4 separate regions of the Homo sapiens genome follow, and all the other regions are linked to region 3. Evidence: promoter capture Hi-C in 16 types of primary human blood cells and fetal thymus (Javierre and others, 2016). All regions are on one chromosome and are shown on one strand. The core of a region is centred on a gene start or on the middle of the fragment in contact, and the rest is flanking DNA. Distances in the headings are between cores, read along the strand shown. Region 1 overlaps VPS4A (vacuolar protein sorting 4 homolog A). Region 2 overlaps TANGO6 (transport and golgi organization 6 homolog). Region 3 holds the start of CHTF8 (chromosome transmission fidelity factor 8). Region 4 overlaps SNTB2 (syntrophin beta 2).

Evidence for each region. The method cuts DNA at HindIII sites, captures the fragments that hold promoters and counts their contacts. A CHiCAGO score of 5 or more calls a contact.
Region 1: a contact is called between a fragment that was not itself captured here and the fragment with the promoter of CHTF8 in region 3, in 1 of 17 cell types (endothelial precursors). The highest score is 6.1, in endothelial precursors.
Region 2: a fragment that was not itself captured here is called in contact with the fragment with the promoter of CHTF8 in region 3 in 1 of 17 cell types (endothelial precursors); the score reaches 5.2 in endothelial precursors.
Region 4: a fragment that was not itself captured here is called in contact with the fragment with the promoter of CHTF8 in region 3 in 14 of 17 cell types (endothelial precursors, M2 macrophages, megakaryocytes and 11 more); the score reaches 10.2 in endothelial precursors.

Annotation. Positions count from the first base shown.
Region 1 is chr16:69,326,160-69,330,407 of GRCh38, forward strand. VPS4A (vacuolar protein sorting 4 homolog A) reads left to right here. Exons shown (of 11, transcript NM_013245.3): 11 at 1-780. It overlaps COG8 (component of oligomeric golgi complex 8), which reads right to left. Exons shown (of 6, transcript NM_032382.5): 6 at 269-3,020. PDF (peptide deformylase, mitochondrial) reads right to left here. Exons shown (of 2, transcript NM_022341.2): 1 at 3,838-4,248; 2 at 754-3,020. The coding sequence ends at 2,863. Among named protein-coding and RNA genes, the nearest start is that of PDF, 2.3 kb to the right of the region's middle. RefSeq lists an enhancer at 3,795-4,248 and a silencer at 4,067-4,248. The HindIII fragment of the contact is 2,928 bases long and covers 1-2,858 here.
Region 2 is chr16:68,917,206-68,922,115 of GRCh38, forward strand. TANGO6 (transport and golgi organization 6 homolog) reads left to right here. Exons shown (of 18, transcript NM_024562.2): 12 at 1,880-2,014. Among named protein-coding and RNA genes, the nearest start is that of TANGO6, 76 kb to the left of the region's middle. The HindIII fragment of the contact is 1,144 bases long and covers 2,463-3,606 here.
Region 3 is chr16:69,130,533-69,134,975 of GRCh38, forward strand. CHTF8 (chromosome transmission fidelity factor 8) reads right to left here and starts at 2,056. Exons shown (of 4, transcript NM_001039690.5): 1 at 1,952-2,056. It overlaps DERPC (DERPC proline and glycine rich nuclear protein), which reads right to left and starts at 2,056. Exons shown (of 3, transcript NM_001002847.4): 1 at 1,952-2,056. It overlaps UTP4 (UTP4 small subunit processome component), which reads left to right and starts at 2,117. Exons shown (of 17, transcript NM_032830.3): 1 at 2,117-2,157; 2 at 2,926-3,086. The coding sequence starts at 2,928. RefSeq lists silencers at 1,636-1,785, 1,806-2,165. The HindIII fragment of the contact is 3,017 bases long and covers 129-3,145 here.
Region 4 is chr16:69,300,537-69,305,392 of GRCh38, forward strand. SNTB2 (syntrophin beta 2) reads left to right here. Exons shown (of 7, transcript NM_006750.4): 7 at 296-4,856. The coding sequence ends at 388. Among named protein-coding and RNA genes, the nearest start is that of VPS4A, 8.4 kb to the right of the region's middle. The HindIII fragment of the contact is 3,068 bases long and covers 1,005-4,072 here.

The DNA of each region.
Region 1 (4,248 bases), core at 145-2,644, 190 kb after region 3:
CAAACCTGGTTGGGCCAGAACTGATTACATGGCCAACTCTTGGCTCACACTGGGCTTGCACTGGGCCATTTCTTTGCTCTGGTTCAGAGCCTCTGCAGAAGTGAGCTAACTTTGGATCAGTAGCTCCAACACTTGGCTCCAGTGCTGGCAGGTTACCCCTCAACCATAGCAGCTGGGATCTTTGTGGCTTGGGGGTGCTTGTGTAAGTTCTTGGTTATGTGCCCTCAGCCACCAGGATATGAACCGTGTCTGCAGAGCTTCACTTTAGTGAGCTTACAAGTTTTTAAATTTTTACTTCTAGTTACATTTACTTGAATCAGAACGTTGTTTCCTCATTCCTACTGCTTAAACACCTTGACAAGTCCTAGGGGTTAACAAAGGTTAGCATGGCTATGGTCCATCCCTGTGCTCTAGTTAGAGCGTGAAGACACCTGACTTTCCAGTTGTCTCTCTCCATGACCAGCAACAGGAACCACTGACGCTGAACTTTGGACAGTGGCCTCAGACTCTGGCTGCCAGCACACAACCTGCCATCATCGATGTTAAACATGCTGACATGTGCAGAGGAGTTTCCTCCCTGAAATGCTCTGAAATTCACTTCTCTGCCTGGGGATTCTGTTATAAACCTTCTGCCTACATTGGCTTTCACTGTGGAAGTTGATTTCTAAAACTCTGATGAGCTCACAACGTTGACATGTATATGCGTTTTTTGTGAGTGCTTCCTGCTCAAAGTGGGAGAGATTTTACTGGAAATGCAATAAAGTTTGCATTTTATTGCTACCGATGCCCACCACAAAAGCGTTAACCTCAGAAAGCTATAAGAAGCATCAAAAGATTGCCATAGCCCCCTGTAAGAGCTTCTGAACATTGTCCAAATGAAAGGAGGCTCAGCTGAATTCTAATTTTCCTAAAGACCCATGTTTTTAGCATCTATGAGCTTTCTACAAATCTCCCCATTGGCTGCATCTCTGACCTTGCACCAGTATCTGGTTGGGATTCCCTTTTTTTTTTTTTTTTTTTTTTTTTGAGACAGAGCCTTGGTCTGTCGCCCAGGCTGGAGTACAGTGGCGAGATCTCAGCCCACTGCAACCTCTGCCTCCCAGGTTTGAGCGATTCTCCCGCCTCAGCCTCCCAAGTAGCTGTGATTACAGGCGCCTACCAGCACACCCAGCTAATTTTCATATTTTTAGTAGAAACAGTGTTTCGCCATGTTGGCCAGGCTGGTCTTGAACTCCTGACCTCAGGTGATCTGCCTGCCTTGACCTCCCAAAGTGCTGGGATTACAGGCATGAGCCACCAAGCCTGGCCGGGATTCCTTTTCAAAGTCTGGCTGCACCTAGAGCCAGTTTGCTTCTGCTTGGCCTCATGGGGCCTCAGAGAAAGCCACAAAGGAGGATGGGTCTTTCCTGGGTTCATTTAACTGCCATTTATAACACTTTTTCCTCTAAACAGCTTAATGGACTTCCTACTACTTGTATAGTTTGATTTTCAGGACTCTGTTCAGCAAGAATACCTACTTTACAAAACTCAGCATAAAAATGAGGTGAAACAGTTTAACTAAAACTGGAGTTTGGCTGGGTAGTGTGGCTCACAACTGATCCCAGCACTTTGGGAGGCCGAGGCAGGAGGATTGCCTGAGACCAGGAATTTGAGGCCAGCCTGGGCAACATAGTAAGACCCCCGTCTCTATCTTAAAAAAAAAATAAAAGAATAAAACAAGTTCCTTCACCTCTTGACAAGACAAAGCTGACACTTTTTTTTTTTGAGACAGAGAAAAAAAGAAAACTCTACAGCCAGAATCATACTTTTGAGTCTCGCTCTGTCGCCCAGGCTGGATGGAGTGCAGTGGCGTGATCTCAGCTCACTGTAACCTCCGCCTCCTGGGTTCAAGTAATTCTCTGCCTTGGCTTCACGAGTAGCTGGGATTACAGGTGCTCGCCACCACGCCCGGCTAATTTTTGTATCTTTAGTAGAGACAGGGTTTCACCATCTTGGCCAGGCTGGTCTTGAGCTCCTGACCTCGTGATCCACCCGCCCCGCCCTCCCAAAGTGCTGGGATTACAGGCGTGAACCACTGCACCTGGCCACTTTCTTAAACCTACACATTGGTTGCTGTGATATTAATTCTATTTTTACAAAATAAGTGTATAACCAGGAAGTACTAATCCTGCTTTCTATGCCCAATTGTTAACAGGAAAGGGCTCAGTGCACTTCTCAATTGTCACCCCTGCCCCCAGCCCTGATCCACGGCCTCTACCCCAAGAATGAGCCAAGAACCAGCTGCTCTAGGGATCTCAGCAGCAAAATCCTGCCCAAGGCTGTTAAAATGTGTGGGCACTCATTTACACTCGTGCTGTCATGAAACACATCCTTGAACAGGGACTATTCTCTTTCATTTCCATAAGCAAACTGGCGTCTAAGGCCACAAGCCCTCCGTAAAAATAAGAACTCGGCACAAATGGCCAGTCACATGCTTACCTGCATTTTTAAAGACAGCTTTCAGGTATTTGGGGACTACATTATTACCAAACCTTGGCTTTGGGAGATTATACAGGTCCGAGGAACTCGTGTCTACTGCAGACGAATGCAATTACCCCACCTTCCTCCATACAGAATTGTTAGGAAATGTCCACTCCTTTGGGGGTGATTTTTCTCCTCAAGTTGTAGCCAACATTTTGTCCGTAACTGATTTCAGGGCAAACATTTCTGACATCTTCCTCCAGCTCAGTCTGCCATGCCTTGGCAATCCAGTTTCCTGTCATATGCGAGCCATCCAAGTTGATGCCAAGTAAGATTTGCCCAGCTCAAAGTGAAAGTGTTTGCGTCTTGGTATCCGGAATCCTCAGCCCCAGTAGCAAAGCTTTAGTCATTCACCTTCATCCAATAGACGTTTGTGAACGTCCTGCTGTCCATTTTGTCAATAAACAGGCAGCCCTGCAGGTGGTCCATCTCGTGCTGGATGATGCGGGCTGCCCACCCGCTCGCCTGCCACACCACCTGTTCTCCATTGGGGTCCAGCCCTGCAAAGGAAGTTACAGCCCTGGTGAGTGGGAACAGCTGAACTGCATCATCCTCAACCTCCCTACCCCTGCCCCCGGTCCTGGCTGTTCCCATTGACAAGAGGCAACAGCAGATGGCAAATGTAGACAGCAGCTCCTCTTCTAACTGGAAAACGTCCCTCATCTCGGTCCATTACCAAGCGTTCAACCTGGTTCCCAACTCTGGTAATTAGGTTATCGAGCTCACTGTAGAGCTGAGATGAGAAATCATCTTTCTACGGTGCGACCCTTCCGAACACTCCTCCCACTTCTGAGGTACCTGTGGGCTCCCAACTCCTAACAGAGGTTCTGCAGCTTGAGACCCCACTTGTTTTTCTGACCATCTTGAACCGACGGGCTTGCTGTGCAGGAACAATCACCCCGACCCCAGCAGAGCCCGCATTCCGCGAGGCATCCTGTGGTACCACGGGGGAATGGCCTAGCCCCCTGGGCTGGGTCAGGCTGGCGGGGGCTAACCCCCACTTCTCCAACTCCACCGTGGCGGATCTAACTGGGGCCGAAGAGCGTGTTTGCCTCAGAGAGCAAGGGAGCAGAAAGCAGACGCCAGGCTGTCAGGTAACAGCGGAACTAGGGGACCTCTCCTCGCCCCTGCGTCCTATCTGAGCGGGCTCTACCCCACAGGAGCTTCTATCCGTCCTGAGGCCTCTCCGCTCCCGCATCCCACTTCGCTCCTGCGGGAGGTCCGGCGTATGAACCGCGACCACTTCTGCGCTCTCGCGGAGTCGGGCAGAAGAGACGCGCGCGCTGCTCCAGCAGCCCCGGTCCCCGCCGCCCGCACCTGAGATCTGCACCGCCTGGAAGCGGGGCACGCAGGCCAGGAAGCCGGCGACGCTCTCGCAGCCCTCGGGAAAGGTGACCAGGCGGCTGTCAAGCACTCGCAGGCTGGGGTTCACGAACACGCGCAGGGGGAAGGGCTCCATTTGGCGGAGCGCGCGCTGGCGGGGCGGGCACTCCCGACACAGCGCCTCGGGGAGCTCCAGCGCCAGCACCTGCCGCGGCACCCCCAGCTGCGGCGCGCTTAGGCCCACGCAGCGCCGCCGCCGCATCACCTGGACCAGCCGTTGCGTCAGCCGCTGCAGCTCGGGCCCGCCTAGCTGCGCCCGCTCCACCGGGGCCGCCACGCCGCGCAGCACCGGGTCCCCGACTTGGCACACGTGCGAGAACGGCGGTTCGGGAGGACCCAGCACCA
Region 2 (4,910 bases), core at 1,785-4,284, 210 kb before region 3:
TCGAGTTTCCTCCATGTCTTTTCATAGCTTGATTGCCCATTTTTTGGTGCTGTTTTTCCATTGTTTGGATGTATCACAGTTTATTGATGCATTCACCTACTGAAGGACATCTTGGTTACTTCCAAGTTTTAACAATTATGACTAGAGCTGCTATAAACAACCATGTGCAGGTTTTTGTGTGGACATAAGTTTTCAACTCATTTGGATAAATATCAAGGCAAGCAATGGCTAGACTGTATGGTGAAAGTATGTTTAGTTTTGTAAGAAACTGCCAAACTGTCTGCCTAAGTGGCTGTACCATTTTGCATTCCCAGCAGCAATGAATGAATGAGAGAGCTCCTGTTGATCTCCATCCTCACCAGCATTCCTGGTGAAATCAGTTCTCTGGATTTTGGCCATTCTATTAGGTGTGTAACAGTATATCACCAGTGCTTTCATTTCCAGTTCTCCAGTGACATAGGATGTGGAGCATCTTTTCATATGCTTTTTTGCCGTCTGTATATTTTCTTTGGTGAGATGTCGGTTCAGGACTTTTGCTCATTTTTAATTGGGCTCTTTTCTTTTCAAGATAGGATCTCTCTCTGTCACACAGGCTGGAGTGCAGTGACACCATCATGGCTTACTGCAGCCTTGACCTCCTGGGCTCAAGCAGTCCTCCCACCTCAGTCTCCTGAGTAGCTGGGACTATAGGCACTTGCCACTATGCCTGGCTAATTTTTTTTTTTTTTTTTTGAGATAGGATCTCACTCCGTTGCCCAGGCTGGAGTGTAGTGGTGCTATCTCAGCTCACTGCAACCTCCACTTCCTGGTTCAAGCGATTCTTCCACCTCAGCCTCCCGAGTAGCTGAGACCACAGGTGTGCCACCATGCCCAGATAATTTTTTGGTAGAGACAGGGTTCACCATGTTGGCCAGGCTGGTCTCGACTCCTAACCTCAAGTGATCTACCCACCTCAGCCTCCCAAAGTGCTGGGATTACAGGCGTGAGCCACCGTGCTCAACCCAGGTTTTCTTATTATTGAGCTTTAAGAGTTCTCTGTAAATTTTGGAAAACAGTCTCTTGTCAGACTGTTGTGGATGAATATTTTCTCCCAGTCTGTGGCTTCTCTTTGTATTCTCTTGACAGTGTCTTTCGCAGAGCAGGAATTTTTAACTTCAGTGAAGTCCAGCTTATCATTACTTTCTTTCACGGATTGTGCCTTTGGTGTTGTATCTGAAAAGTCATCACCATACCCAAGATCATCTAGATTTTTCATGTTATCTTCGAGGAGTTTATAATTTTGTATTTTGCATTGCAGTCCGTGATCCATTTTAAGTTAATTTACAAGTCATTTTGCTTTTTAATTTTCAGGCAAAATTCATGAAAAGTTAAGGAAGTTGGAGTAGCATATTAAAACATTTGGAAAAGTATGAATAGGCTTTCTCATTTATTAAGTGTATGGCCTTAAACAAACAACCTTTTAAAGTCTCAGATTCTTCATTTCACAATGAGGATAATAGTACTGACCTCATAGAGTTGATATGAGAACTAAATGAGATTGTACATGTGAAACACTTGGGAGCTTCCCGCTTGCTGAACATGTGGAGATGCTGGGAGTGGGGCTAGCCCAGAGAGGGCATGGAAGCTACACCCCCACCCGCTTGTCCTATCCATCTGTCTGTTCATCTGTGTCCTTTGTAATAACCTTTATAATAAACCGGTAAATGTTTAAAAAAAAAACACTGAACATCACATCTGCATGGTAAGTAGCAGTTGTTCTGGATGGTTCTTGCTATCATGATGTAGATGAAGAAGATGAGGATGTAGACATAAGATGTAAGGAGAATTATGATTTTTTTTTTTCATTCCTCATTGATTCTCAATTCCCTTTTTTGGGTAGGTGGTGGACTTTGTAGCAGCAACATTGCAGAGAGCCTGTGCAAGCCTGGCCCATCAGGCAGAGAGCACCGTGGAATCACAGACGCTGAGCATGTCCATGGGGCTGGTGGCTGTCATGCTAGGAGGAGCTGTTCAGGTGAGTTGTAGACATGAGGCAAGCTTGAATGGAGGGAAGGGAGAAGCGAAATACCAGTTGTTTTCCTTCCATATCCTTGTGAGAAATAAGAATGGATATTGTACATAGGAGAACCTAGATAAAGAAGTTAGTTTGTTAATGAGAATTCTCTCCAAAGTAGAGAACAAGAAAGTTGCACCATTTCTACTCTGTCACCTGCATAGACTTCACTATCAGAAGGGCAGGGTCCTTTCTACCTGTTACAATCTTAATTTGGGAACATCTAGCCTGGTGTTTTGCATCTGAGGTGAATACTAGATTTTCTGGCTCTCACTCTCCAAAGCTCAGCCCTTGTTTCTGCTACTGTTGTTGGGGAAAGTCCTCAACTGGTTGCATAGGATCCATCTATTTTGAATGCTCCATTTTAGCACAGGATTCATTCTTCATCCCTTATCAGGTAGCATGTTAAAGCTTTGCTTCCAGCCACTTTTAAGTATGTATGTCTTTTACATACCTAATTTATAATTTTTAAATTTATTTTTTTAAACACTACATATTGGCCGGGTGCGGTGGCTCACTGAGCCTGTAATCCCAGCACTTTGGGAGGCTGAGTTTGGTGGATCACCTGAGGTGAGGAGTTTGAGACCAGCCTGGTCAACATGGTGAAACCCCGTCTCTACTAAAAATATTTAAAAAAAATTAGCTGGGCGTGGTGGCGGGTGCCTGTAATCCCAGCTACTCGGGAGGCTGAGGCAGGAAAATTGCTTGAACCCAGGAGCCGGAGGTTGCAGTGAGCCGAAATCGTGCCATTGCACTCCAGCCTGGGTGACAAGAGCTAAACTCCATCTCAAAAAAAATTAAACAAACAAAACCTACATATTGCATACTTGTGTGCCACACATACTAAGCTAGGGTGCTGGGAATACAGCAGGGGACAGGGCAGACCGTCATGAAACTTGCAGTCCAGTAAGGAAGTCAGACACTAAATGACTGTTCAGAAATGTACTTAGAATTGAATGAAGGGTCTCAAAAGAGAAGTGGCGGGTACCAAGAGCACATAACATCTAACCTAGGCTGGGAAGATTTCCACTGAGGAAGTGTAAGCGTAAGCTAAGATTTGAAGGAAACTCTTCCAAGTAAGGAAAACATCACGTACAAAGGCTTAGAAGCAGCAAAGAGCTTGGTATACTTGAGACACTGATGGAAGGCTGGTGTTAGTGAATTGTAGAGACCAAGGGGAAGAGCATGCCTGCAAGGACAAAAGATAGTCAAGGGCTAGACCATGCATGTGTGTGTGACTGGCTGATTACATACCGAGTTAGGTGAGGAGTCTGCAGGAAAGCAGAATAGGCTTAGTGTGAGTCTTATGAAATCTACCCTGCAGCCAGCCTGCTCATAACCCTTAGCAATGAGTAGGATACCCTCTGGGAATGGATTTTTGAGCTTGAGGATTCAAATCTGATTCTGATTCTCGATGTATTAGAATATACCTTTCACTAGCCTGTCTAAAAGGAAAGGGAATTTTATCTGGGCCTGTTATTAGTGTGAAGCCCATTTCTTTAGATTTACTTAGCACTTCTAATTATATATTTTCCATATTGTTTTAAAAAAAAAGCTTTTGGTTCAGTTTCTAGAGCCATAGTATACCCTTGCTGTTAGAACTGTCAAGGTTTGGGAGGCCGAGGTGGGCGGATCAGGAGGTCAGGAGATCGAGACCATCCTGGCTAACACAGTGAAACTCCGTCTCTACTAAAAATACAAAAAAAAGGTGGCGGGTGCCTGTAGTCCCAGCTACTCGGGAGGCTGAGGCAGGAGAATGGCGTGAACCTGGGAGGCGGAGGTTGCAGTGGGCGGAGGTTGCAGTGAGCCGAGATCGCGCCACTGCACTCCAGCCTGGGCAACAGAGCGAGACTCTGTCTCAAAAAAAAAAAAAAAAAAAAGAACTATCAAGGAAAGTTTCACTGATGGAATCATTTTTCTTTTTTCTTTTCTTTTTTTTTTTCAGACAGAGTCTTACTCTGTCACCCAGACTGGAATGCAGTGGCACAATCTCAGCTCACTGCAGCCTCCACCTCCTGGGTTCAAGCAATTCTCCTGCCTCAGCCTCCCAAGTAGCTGGGATTACAGGCATGCACCACCACGCCCAGCTAATTTTTTGTATTTATAGTAGAGACAGGGTTTTGCCATGTTGGCCAGGCTGGTCTCGAACCCCTGACCTCAAGTGATTCACCCGCCTCGGCCTCCCAAAGTGTTACAGGCATGAGCCACCACGCTCGGCCGGAATCATTTTTCTTAAGTTGTATTCTTATTGGATTTAGTTGGCCAAATAGATTTTTGTTTTGTTTTGTTTTGTTTTTTTTTGGTTGAATATTGATTTGAATAGTCTTTTTCCACAAGGTGAGAGTGTGCTTTTTTTTTTTTTTTTTTTTTTGGCTTCTCTTTACTTCACACTTATCATTTCAAACCACATCCCAATGTAAGATAGATCACAAAAATCTCCATTTCCCTTTCTAGAAGCCCATTGTTGGAGGGCTGGCTGTGCACATTAGTTGTGTTCTAAGACAGACTCACCTGACTGATATCAAGGTTATACCTTGCAGGCCCCTGCCTTTCTGTGAGCCATCCTGACTCACTGATTACATCCGGCATTCCTCTGACTTTGCAGTTAGTTAAGTGAACATAAGCACGTCACCCCCTATACCTTTGCCCTAGATCTACTACTTTTTTTCTGTTTGAATCATGGATTTGTAAATGGCTTCTATAGTAATGCTGGATTTTCTTTCTTTGTATTAGAAAAAAATGTCATGGTTCTGAATTGTGTTTTCAGTTAATCATTGTCAGGCTAACAATATACTGTTTTTTCCTATTTCTTACTAGGATTCGTTGTTTTGGCTTATTAAAAAAGAATCTAACATCA
Region 3 (4,443 bases), core at 806-3,305:
ATTCTGTGATTTTGCCACCTATCCCATATGTGACAGTGGGTAGTTTAACCTCACGTGTTTTCCTAACAATACACTGGGCATAAACACCTATTTTGAAAGGCTGTTGCAAGAACGAGTAATGAATGTAAAGCTTTTAGCACATTGTCTGACACATGGTAAGCCTTCAGGGTCAAGCTATCGATTTCCCAGAGAAAGGTGGCATTTTCTTAGTATTCATCAAATAGAATGTCTTAATACTACACTGTGTTAGCATATTAATGTTTATAACGGACTAAAGCATTCTACGAAAGCAGCAGGTCATCAGAATAAAATCAAGTTTTCATAACAGTAGAATTCAAACATGGCAGTTGTGGTTCACCAAACTGCTTCAGGGATTAAGTTCTGGAAGGTAATTTCTCTAAATATGATGACTATGTCTCTATGTGCCTTTCTACCAAGTGAACAACTCAGAACGTTTTACATACAACCGAATACAGATTATTTTTATTTGTAGTGTTATCGTGGTTTTGTAACTGAAGGGGACAGGTCTATACTTTTGAAGGGGATCTTGTCTCTTGAAAGGCTTATGTTACTAAGTCTAAAATCCTGTTTCCAAATGAGAATCTTGCTCCCCTCCAAAAAGGGGCTTATGGAGGGTTGGTGGAATTGAATGCTTCCAAACTTTACATTAGTGAAGTGTGTTCAAAAACGTGTGTGGATGCTATGCATACACGTGATACTTCCCATCACATTTTAGGATTCCCACGTTGGAGGGAATCAATTACTGGTATTTGTAGCAATGGGTGGAAAAGATGGCTTCAGTCGATCTGAGTTACTGCAGTTTTCTCCATCTTCTGCTACTCTGCAGCCCCATCTTAGCCTGTCCTCCTCTTAATGGTACGGCCCCCTGTACTCCCCCAAACCCTTTCCTTTCTAGCCCGGCGTAGAGTCTCCCTCTGTGCTCTTCCTCCCACCCACCCCCATCTTCTCCACCCACTCCCTCTCGGCCCCCTCCCACCCTTTCTGCTAGAGCTACAAACACTTCCTATTTCTAGTCCCACCCACTTTCTGGGACTTCTCAATCCGCTTCCCCCCTCTTCTCCACCCCCCTCCAAATTACAAGCTGTTTTAACCCCTTTTCCTGCCTCCCAGGGAAACTATTCTTTAAACCGCCTTCCTCCACACCACCCACTGGAGTGGTCTTCCAAACCGTTCACCCTCTTCCCAAAGATTACTCTTTAAACGTCCTTTCTCTACCACCCTCGTTCTCCAAATTGTTCCCGGTTCTCAAGTACTCCACTCCTCCAGGACCCCACCCCACTCGTCTCTCGGCTTCCCTCCCACAAAAGAACCTGGAATGACTCTCCAACCACCCTTCCAATTACCTCTCCCAGAAGCCTCCCCCCTCCACGATTACAAATGTTACCTGGAACAAAACCTCACGGTCCTAACCCCCACCCCGAACTCCCCTTTCTGCTCTTCCCGCTACTTCCTAGGTTCCAGTTCTACTCCGCTCCCGCAAGCATAGCGGGCTGGGCTCCCTCCCAACCCCGGGAAGAGCCCCTTCCCGCACGTACCTCGAGATTCCGGCCCTCGCCGCCCCCTTCTCCGTCCTCCGCCCGCGCTCGGCCACCCTTTCCGCCCTTCTCCCGCTCCGCCCCGCTCGCTCCCTTCCTTCCCTCCGCCTTCCGTCTCCACACCGCTCCCTTCCCCCACACTCCTGGCCCTCCCACCCCGGAGGCCCCTCCGGGCTTGCCCCCACCTCCGCGCCGCCCTCCCGCCGCCCTCCCCCTTCCCGGCCACCCCTCCCCCGCCCGCGCTCCCCGCCCCTCGGCTCGCCATTCTTCTCTCCGAGCCGCGCGCCCCGCCCGGCCCCGGCTCCCTAGCTTCCCGCTCCCTCGCGCCCTCGCCCCCAATCCCGGCTCGGCCCTCGCTCCCCGCAGCCTCCCGTGCCCCCCGCCCGCGGCCTGACCTGCAATGGCGGCCGCCGAGCGCGGCGCCGCGCGGCCAACGGGCGACAACCGAACCTCCCGCCGCCGTCGCCGCCGCCGCGAGCACTGCCTGCGCACTTCCGACTATGCGCCAGGAGCACTTCCGGGGCAGAGCCTGAGAGCGCGCGCGCACGTGGGGCCGGGGCGGAGAGAGGCGAGCACCGGGAAGGGGAGCGTGGGGCCGCTGGTGAGTTGGGGAAGGGGCGTGGGAAGCGGCTGCGAGAGCTGGGGGGGTCTTACAAGGTGGCCGGCCCAGGGTCGGCGTCCGGCTGAGCTCCTTGTCCCGAGGGTCTCCTTGTCCCGAGGCGGGGTGGGGGCTACTCTGTAGACTCGGGGAGAGGGAAGGGGAGGCGAAGACCGCGCGCGCCTCAGACGCCCCGGCCCGACCGAACGCGCTTGCTCTGTCTGCGGGTTCCTAACCTTGAAGCTAGGCCAGTGAGGGGCGAACAAGACCTGGTCTCTACTCTCGGCCAGTATATATGTTGGCGGGCGTCGGGGGGACGGGGTAGGGTAAGTGACAGACGTCAGACCAGGCAGCCAGATTAAGTCAAACCCTGTCGTTTCTTCCTCAAGAGGAGCTCGGTTCTGCCTGCCCCATCAGCCTCACTGTCACTACCTCAGTTTAGGTCTGTTGTTTGCAAACTTAGCAATAGAGTTGAGGAGAGATGCTTGCTAAAATGCGGATTCCTAGGCGCCCCGAGATAGGAACTCTGGAGCTATGGAGTAGGACCCTTTTTGATTTTTTGCTGAAGCCTCCTTATTATTCAAGCCATTCTGAGCTTTTGAAGATTGAGTAATTCTTGTGGGGGGCATTGTTAGCAGCCATTTGGAAATGAACTTCAGGGAGATGTTGTTGGAGCCTTCCAGCCAGAACAGTGATATTAAGGAACTGAATACTATATGTGACATACTGCAGTTAACATATAGCAATAATGACTCTCTTTTCGCCCCCTAGGAATGGGTGAATTTAAGGTCCATCGAGTACGTTTCTTTAATTATGTTCCATCAGGAATCCGCTGTGTGGCTTACAATAACCAGTCAAACAGATTGGCTGTTTCACGAACAGATGGCACTGTGGAAATTTATAACTTGTCAGCAAACTACTTTCAGGAGAAAGTAAGTCATTTGGGAGTCTGATATGGTGTTTTGATGTTAATTTCTTCTGAAGTTCAAGAAGCTTGTATGTCTTTTATAATCAAACTGATTGAGTGACTTCCTAGCCCCTCTGAAGTTGCTTAGAACTACCAAACTTCTGAGATCTCCTAACTGATAAGAGAAGCTCAGTTTCAATCTGTGTAATGTTGATTAGAAGGGTCCTACCTAGAAATGTGACATCTCACTGCCTGTCATTGGAAACTGAGGTTTGCTGGATCTTTTGGACACAGGAAGGGAAATTGTTGGTATATCAGTCTCAACACCATTGCAGCTTTGGTAAGCAAAATTTCCTGCAGGGAGTATCAGTACTGTTTCATTGTCAATTCAGAAAAAATGATAACACGTTTTAATATCAGAAACTTTTTGGTGATGTGGGAAGATGGATTCCAAAGTTCATCTGTCTGAGAGAATGTAGACCTACATGTCTACATTTGGGAGTAAAGGAGATTTAAAATTAGGTAAAATGTCCTTTGGGTGTATGCAGAGGTCTATTAGTCCTTTTTCTTCTCCCCTCCAAGGGCACTGACTAGTGATTTTCTTCGGGTGCAACATCTTAGTTCATGTTGAATGACTGTTATGTACTGGGTGCTGTGATATAAATGAGTAGATGGGCAAATGAGTGAATTCAGTGCCCAGCAGCCTGGTACCTGGAATTTAGGCATTCTGTAAATGTTTCTCGGTGAATGAGTGGCAAATACTGGGCACTAAGACAAATGTCAGAGGCCCTAACTTTACGGAGCTCAAAGACCAGTGGGAGAAAGATAAGTGTACAGTTTCCAACCTGTAAAATAAATATGATAAACCGAAACACAGGCATAGAACCTTCATTGAATTGCCTTCAGGGAAGGCAATTCAGAGAATTGCCTTCCCTGAGAGGTGGGTTTAGGAAATGTGGAAAGGGATGATTTACTGAGCTCACCCCTGAAGAACTAATCAAAAGGTAAAAACTACAGGACCACCACAAATGGGTTACATTCTGTGGTATGAAGAACATGCGCTGGCGTGTGCTTATTGCATCCTGTGATTTTCTTTTTTTTTCTTTTTCTTTTTTTTTTTTTTTTTGGAGACGGAGTCTTGCTCTGTCACCCAGGCTGGAGTGCAGTGGCGTGATCTTGGCTCACTGCAACCTCTGCCTCCCTCTCCTGCCTCAGCCTTCCAAGTCGCTGGGATTACAGGTGTGCCACCATGCCTCGCTAATTTTTTTATTTTCATAGAGACGAGGTTTCACCATGTTGGCCAGCCTGGTCTCGAACTCCTGACCTCAAGTGATCTGCCCACCTCAGCCTCCCAAAGTGCTGGGATTACAGGTGTGAGCCCT
Region 4 (4,856 bases), core at 1,289-3,788, 170 kb after region 3:
ACCGTGCCTGGCCTTAGATTTTAAATCCTCTACTATTTAGTTCTTCCTACCAGGCATGGTGAAACCCAGTACACCACCAGTTGTCTCCTAATTGGGGATGTGAAACCTCACACCAGTATTATGACATGGAATAACCTTACTCCATAGTGCACTTTTGCCTGTGGCTTTAAGTTCCTAAGAGTTTCCATAGCTCTGGCACATTCTTTACCTACCTTAAATTTATTTTGCATCTTCGTTTATTAAGTTGTCTGTATATGGTAGTGAGGTAGTGATGCTTAGTGTCCTTTCTCCACAGACCATGGACCTGCACTCTTGTCCGAAGCCGATTGTATTTGTGTTGCACACGTTTTTATCGGCCAAAGTCACTCGTATGGGACTGCTTGTATGAGCAACAAAAAATCAGAAAAGAGCCTTGACTGTCACAAGAAATATTTCCACCTCAAAAAAAAAAAAGCACAAAAAGAAACTCTTTGCTCTCCTTCAGCACAGTGCCTTCCCAAGGACCTGCAAATAACTGCTGAACCATAACCGTGTTTAAAGAAGAGCCTACCTTTCACAGTCTACCTTGGCCAGATATTCTAGCACTCTAAAAGGCTCCAAAATGAAGCTGTTGATTTATTCTCATTTCAAAATATGGTTTATGAGTAATTAGGTTTATTTCTACTGCTAAAAAGAATGGCTCATTGTTTTCTTTTTTTTTCATTGTTTTCATTTTTAGACATAATCAAATACCCAAGCATTGTTTTCTTTTTCTTCTCCCTGTAGGATTTGTGTTGTGCTTAGCCTTGATCTCTTGTTCAGAACAATTGTCCCTTCCCAGGTGCTAGCTTGCAGCAGCCTGTTGCTTCCTGAGCATTCCAGATAGGTCGTATGTCTTGGAATTTACTGTCCTCACTAGCTCCTTCCACCATAGGAAGTCCTTGAATTGTATCACCAAAGGGTTGTTCCATTTGCCCTGGATCTCCCTCTATCTCAGCCTGGCCATCACTTCCCACCTTATCCCAAGCTTTGCCACTGTCTCTAGGACTTAGAACTTGTAAATTTGATTTGCCTTGCCTTCTACTTCCTTTCTAGTGGTGACTGAGTTGAAAAGCAAGTTGGAAGCCACTGCTTTTAAAGAAAAGTTTTGCTTGGTTTAGGTTTTTCCAATTTTATTTTTGTTAGGAGCCAGGGGATAAGATTTATTTTAAATGAAAATCCTCTTCCTAGGTTAAGCCATTTTTTTTATTGCTTACCAAATGTGCCTTTGGTTAGGGTTAGTGGAGCTTTATTAGTCACTATTTGAATAACTGGAAATCACTGCCATTTCCAGGAGATCACCTATCCTAGTTTTGAGGAATAGTCATTGAGGTGGGTTTCCTTAATGGCATCTCTTCTAGTAGGCAGATCTGTTTGAACAAGATAAATCCTAAAGAGCCAGCCTGCTTGAGGAGTAGACTTGGTGGGTGAAGCCAGCAATTCCGCACAAACGTCATGTTGAATTGTTTTGGGCTGCCCAAAAACAACAGGATGCAGCATCCTGGCTGTGGCCTGGCCCTTTGTGGCAGCAGTGGCATGGACAAGCAACTGCTAATTCGAGACTTACTATTGGCTTCACAGCACACCCTACAGTGAGCAGGGTGATGAGACCGTGGAACAGCTACCTGCTTTTGGTTAAGATTGCCAGATATCATTAGGACACAGTAGCAGCAAGAATGCTGATTTTGTAGTGTTAGAAAATGAACTCAGCTTGTTTTTCCTAATTTTGAAGGTGGTATATATCTGCAAACATTTAAAATGGTATAATATCATATAAAATGTCAAAATTAGCACAGTCCCTGGATCTCAAAGAATAGGTAATATTGACTTGGATGTTCTTTATGCTCTCTGAAGAAAGGTCTAGGGAAAGTTCTTGTTTGCTTGATTGATCAAGAGTGCCACGGAAGAATGTGAGCGCTGTGGAGGGTGGAGGAGGGTGTCACTTCAGATGGGGCAGGCACAGGGGGAGAAAAGAAGAGAAAAACACACCTGTGTGCAAAATGAGCTATTTGGTTTCAGTGCGGCCTGACCGATGGGGAGGACCCATGAGCAGAGAGAGTTCTAGGTCAACATTGTAACTCCATTGTCCTCCTTCACCCATAAGTCAGTCCTCCTTCCTCATTACAGTGAAACCAACAATATGCAGAGGTTGGGGAGAGATGCCTGTTCTTCCCCCAGCTTCATATAATTGTCAAAGTTCCAAAAATGAATTATCTGAACTGCTTAAAACTGGAAATTAAAATCTAGACAAGAATATGTCTTTCAAGAGCTTTTTATGTTTTGAAAGTTCATAAACCTAAGATTGGCTCCATCTGAGATAAATTTTCTTTTCTTTTTTTTTTTGAGACGGAGTCTCGTTCTGTCTCCCAGGCTGGAGTGCAGTGGCATGATCTCGGCTCACTGCAACCTCCACCTCCTAGGTTCAAGTGATTCTCCTGAGTAGCTGGGGTTATAGCTACCCACCACCACACCCAGCTAATTTTTGTATTTTTAGTAGAGGCAGGTTTTCACCATGTTGGCTAGGCTGGTCTTGAACTCCCGACCTCAAGTGATCCACCTGCCTTGGCCTCCCAAAGTGCTGGGATTATAGGTGTGAGCCCCCGTGCCTGGCCCACAATAAATTTTCATTTCAGAGAAGGAAAAAAATCTCTTGAACGTCCAGAAATGATTTCTGGAATCAGAATTTCAATATGTAATACCCTCAGGTAGGCAATCTTGAACCCTCTATGCAGTGAGAGCATTATTAATATGAGATGTTGAATGATGCCTTTACAGACTTCAGCAGCAAAGCCATTTGGTTGAGGTTTTCTGTGTTAATGTGAAAAGCTAAGCCACTGAGATTTGCAGGGGAGCTTCTGAGCCACCCTGCTTGTTGGTTATATGAGGATGTAAAATAGGTGGAATTAAAATGTGAGCAGGAAAGGCAAGGCATGTGTGCATTTTCACTCATTTTGGTCAAGGTTAAACTGACATGTATAGCACTGAGGTCTGTAGGGTTCTTAATATCTTTTGAGTCTTGCTGTGAAATGAAAGTGTGGGAGGTTTCCTTTGTCCATTAGCAGCCCCAAGAACCAGAACCCTTTTGCTGCTTTTCTTACATACCTAACAGCTCTCCAGTCATGATGACCAAGGTTGTTCTTCAATCAAATGTGTTTGTGGGATTTTCAGTCCGCAAATGAAGTGCTCTCTAATGAATGGGACACCATGATAAATATGTATTTATATTTAGATGCCAAAGTATGGCAAATTATTTCCAAATGATAACTACAAATGGGAATTTTCGATATTCTACCTTTTTTATAGAACCAGCTCACTTTTCATTTCTTTTTCATTTTGAATTAAGAAAATTGTTGAGGATGTGGTGGGTTCCAGTGTGTGGAATGGAAAGGAAACTGCAGAATAGTGTCTGCTCCCCATTCAGAGGGACTGCTTCCTGTGCCCCCCAGACCCGGGGCTTCGACAGCTTCTCCACATTCCACACAGATGCCTAGGAGCAGCGAGTTGGTATATGAAAAGTCTCCCACCTTTTCTCCTAAAACTTCTCTCCTTTCTCTCCATAAAAAGAAAAGGAAAGGAACAAAAGAAAAACATTCAGTTTTTCTTTTTCTGAAAAAGGTAAGTCCTTTCCTGAAGTCATCAAATGAAACATTATCTGGAAATTAGTTTCTAATGTTGTATATGAAGAAATACTTAAATATAAGTTCCTGCAGTATTTATTAGATAGTTGTAACTGTAAACTCACCTCCCTAGTAGATAAGAGTTTCAGGTTAAATACTGGAACATATATAGGCAGTCAAAAATACTACTTTAAATGTCATTCACCTATTTTAAAGCCATGTTTTAGCACTTTTTAGGCCAAAGAAGGTCTGATAGTGCCTGTTTTTATGTTCTGTACTCTCACAAACTTTGTTACTCAAAATTATTGCATGGCAGGAGAGATTGGATTATTTATTTCTTATATTTTTATAAGTAAAAAAATCTTTCTAAACAACAAATACCTAACATTATTACTGATTGTTTTCCTAATTTATCCTCCTAAGTTGAATGGTAACAAAGCTTTTCCAGCTGAATGAATGCACTTAGCTGATAAACCAGAATTTGTTCTTTTTTTTCCTTCTTTTTTTTTTGAGACAGGTTCTCACTCTGTCACCGAGGTTGGAGTGCAGTGGTATGATCATAGCTGACTGCAGCCTCAACCTTCTGGGCTCAAATGATCCTTTCACCTCAGCCTCCTGAGTAGCTGGGACCACAGGTGTGTGCCACCACACCTGGCTAATTTTTATGGATTTTTTTTTCTTTTTTTTTTTTCGCCATGTTGCCCAGGCTGGTCTTGAACTCTTGGCACTCAAGCAGTCCTTCTGCCTCAGCCTCCCAAAGTGCTGGGATTACAGATGTGAGCCACTGCACCTGGCCCCAGAAATTATGCTTAAAAAAAAAATTAAGCTGTGTGGAATCTGGACAAGGCTATGTTTCTCCTAGAAACAGGTTTTGCTGTAAATGGTTTTGATGGGCGAAAGTGTGAGAAAAGGTTATAATAGATTCTTTTTTTTAATTTTGTGAGAAATTCCAGGTCTTCTTGCTTAACTTATATGCATGTGGATATATTTGTTTTCAAAGCCATGGAAGAATCTCTGTTCATATATTTTAATGCAAATTACCTTGTATGCTGCTATGCAAATTCTATTAAAAGGCCTACCTGCTTAAGAATTAAACATTTTTGAAACTTTCAGGGAAGACCTGTAGACTCAAGCACTTTCTCTGCTTTTTTGTATCTTATCTTGGACACTTATGCTGAATTATGTTCTTATTATTTTCACTGGTTATAAGCTATTCCTTGT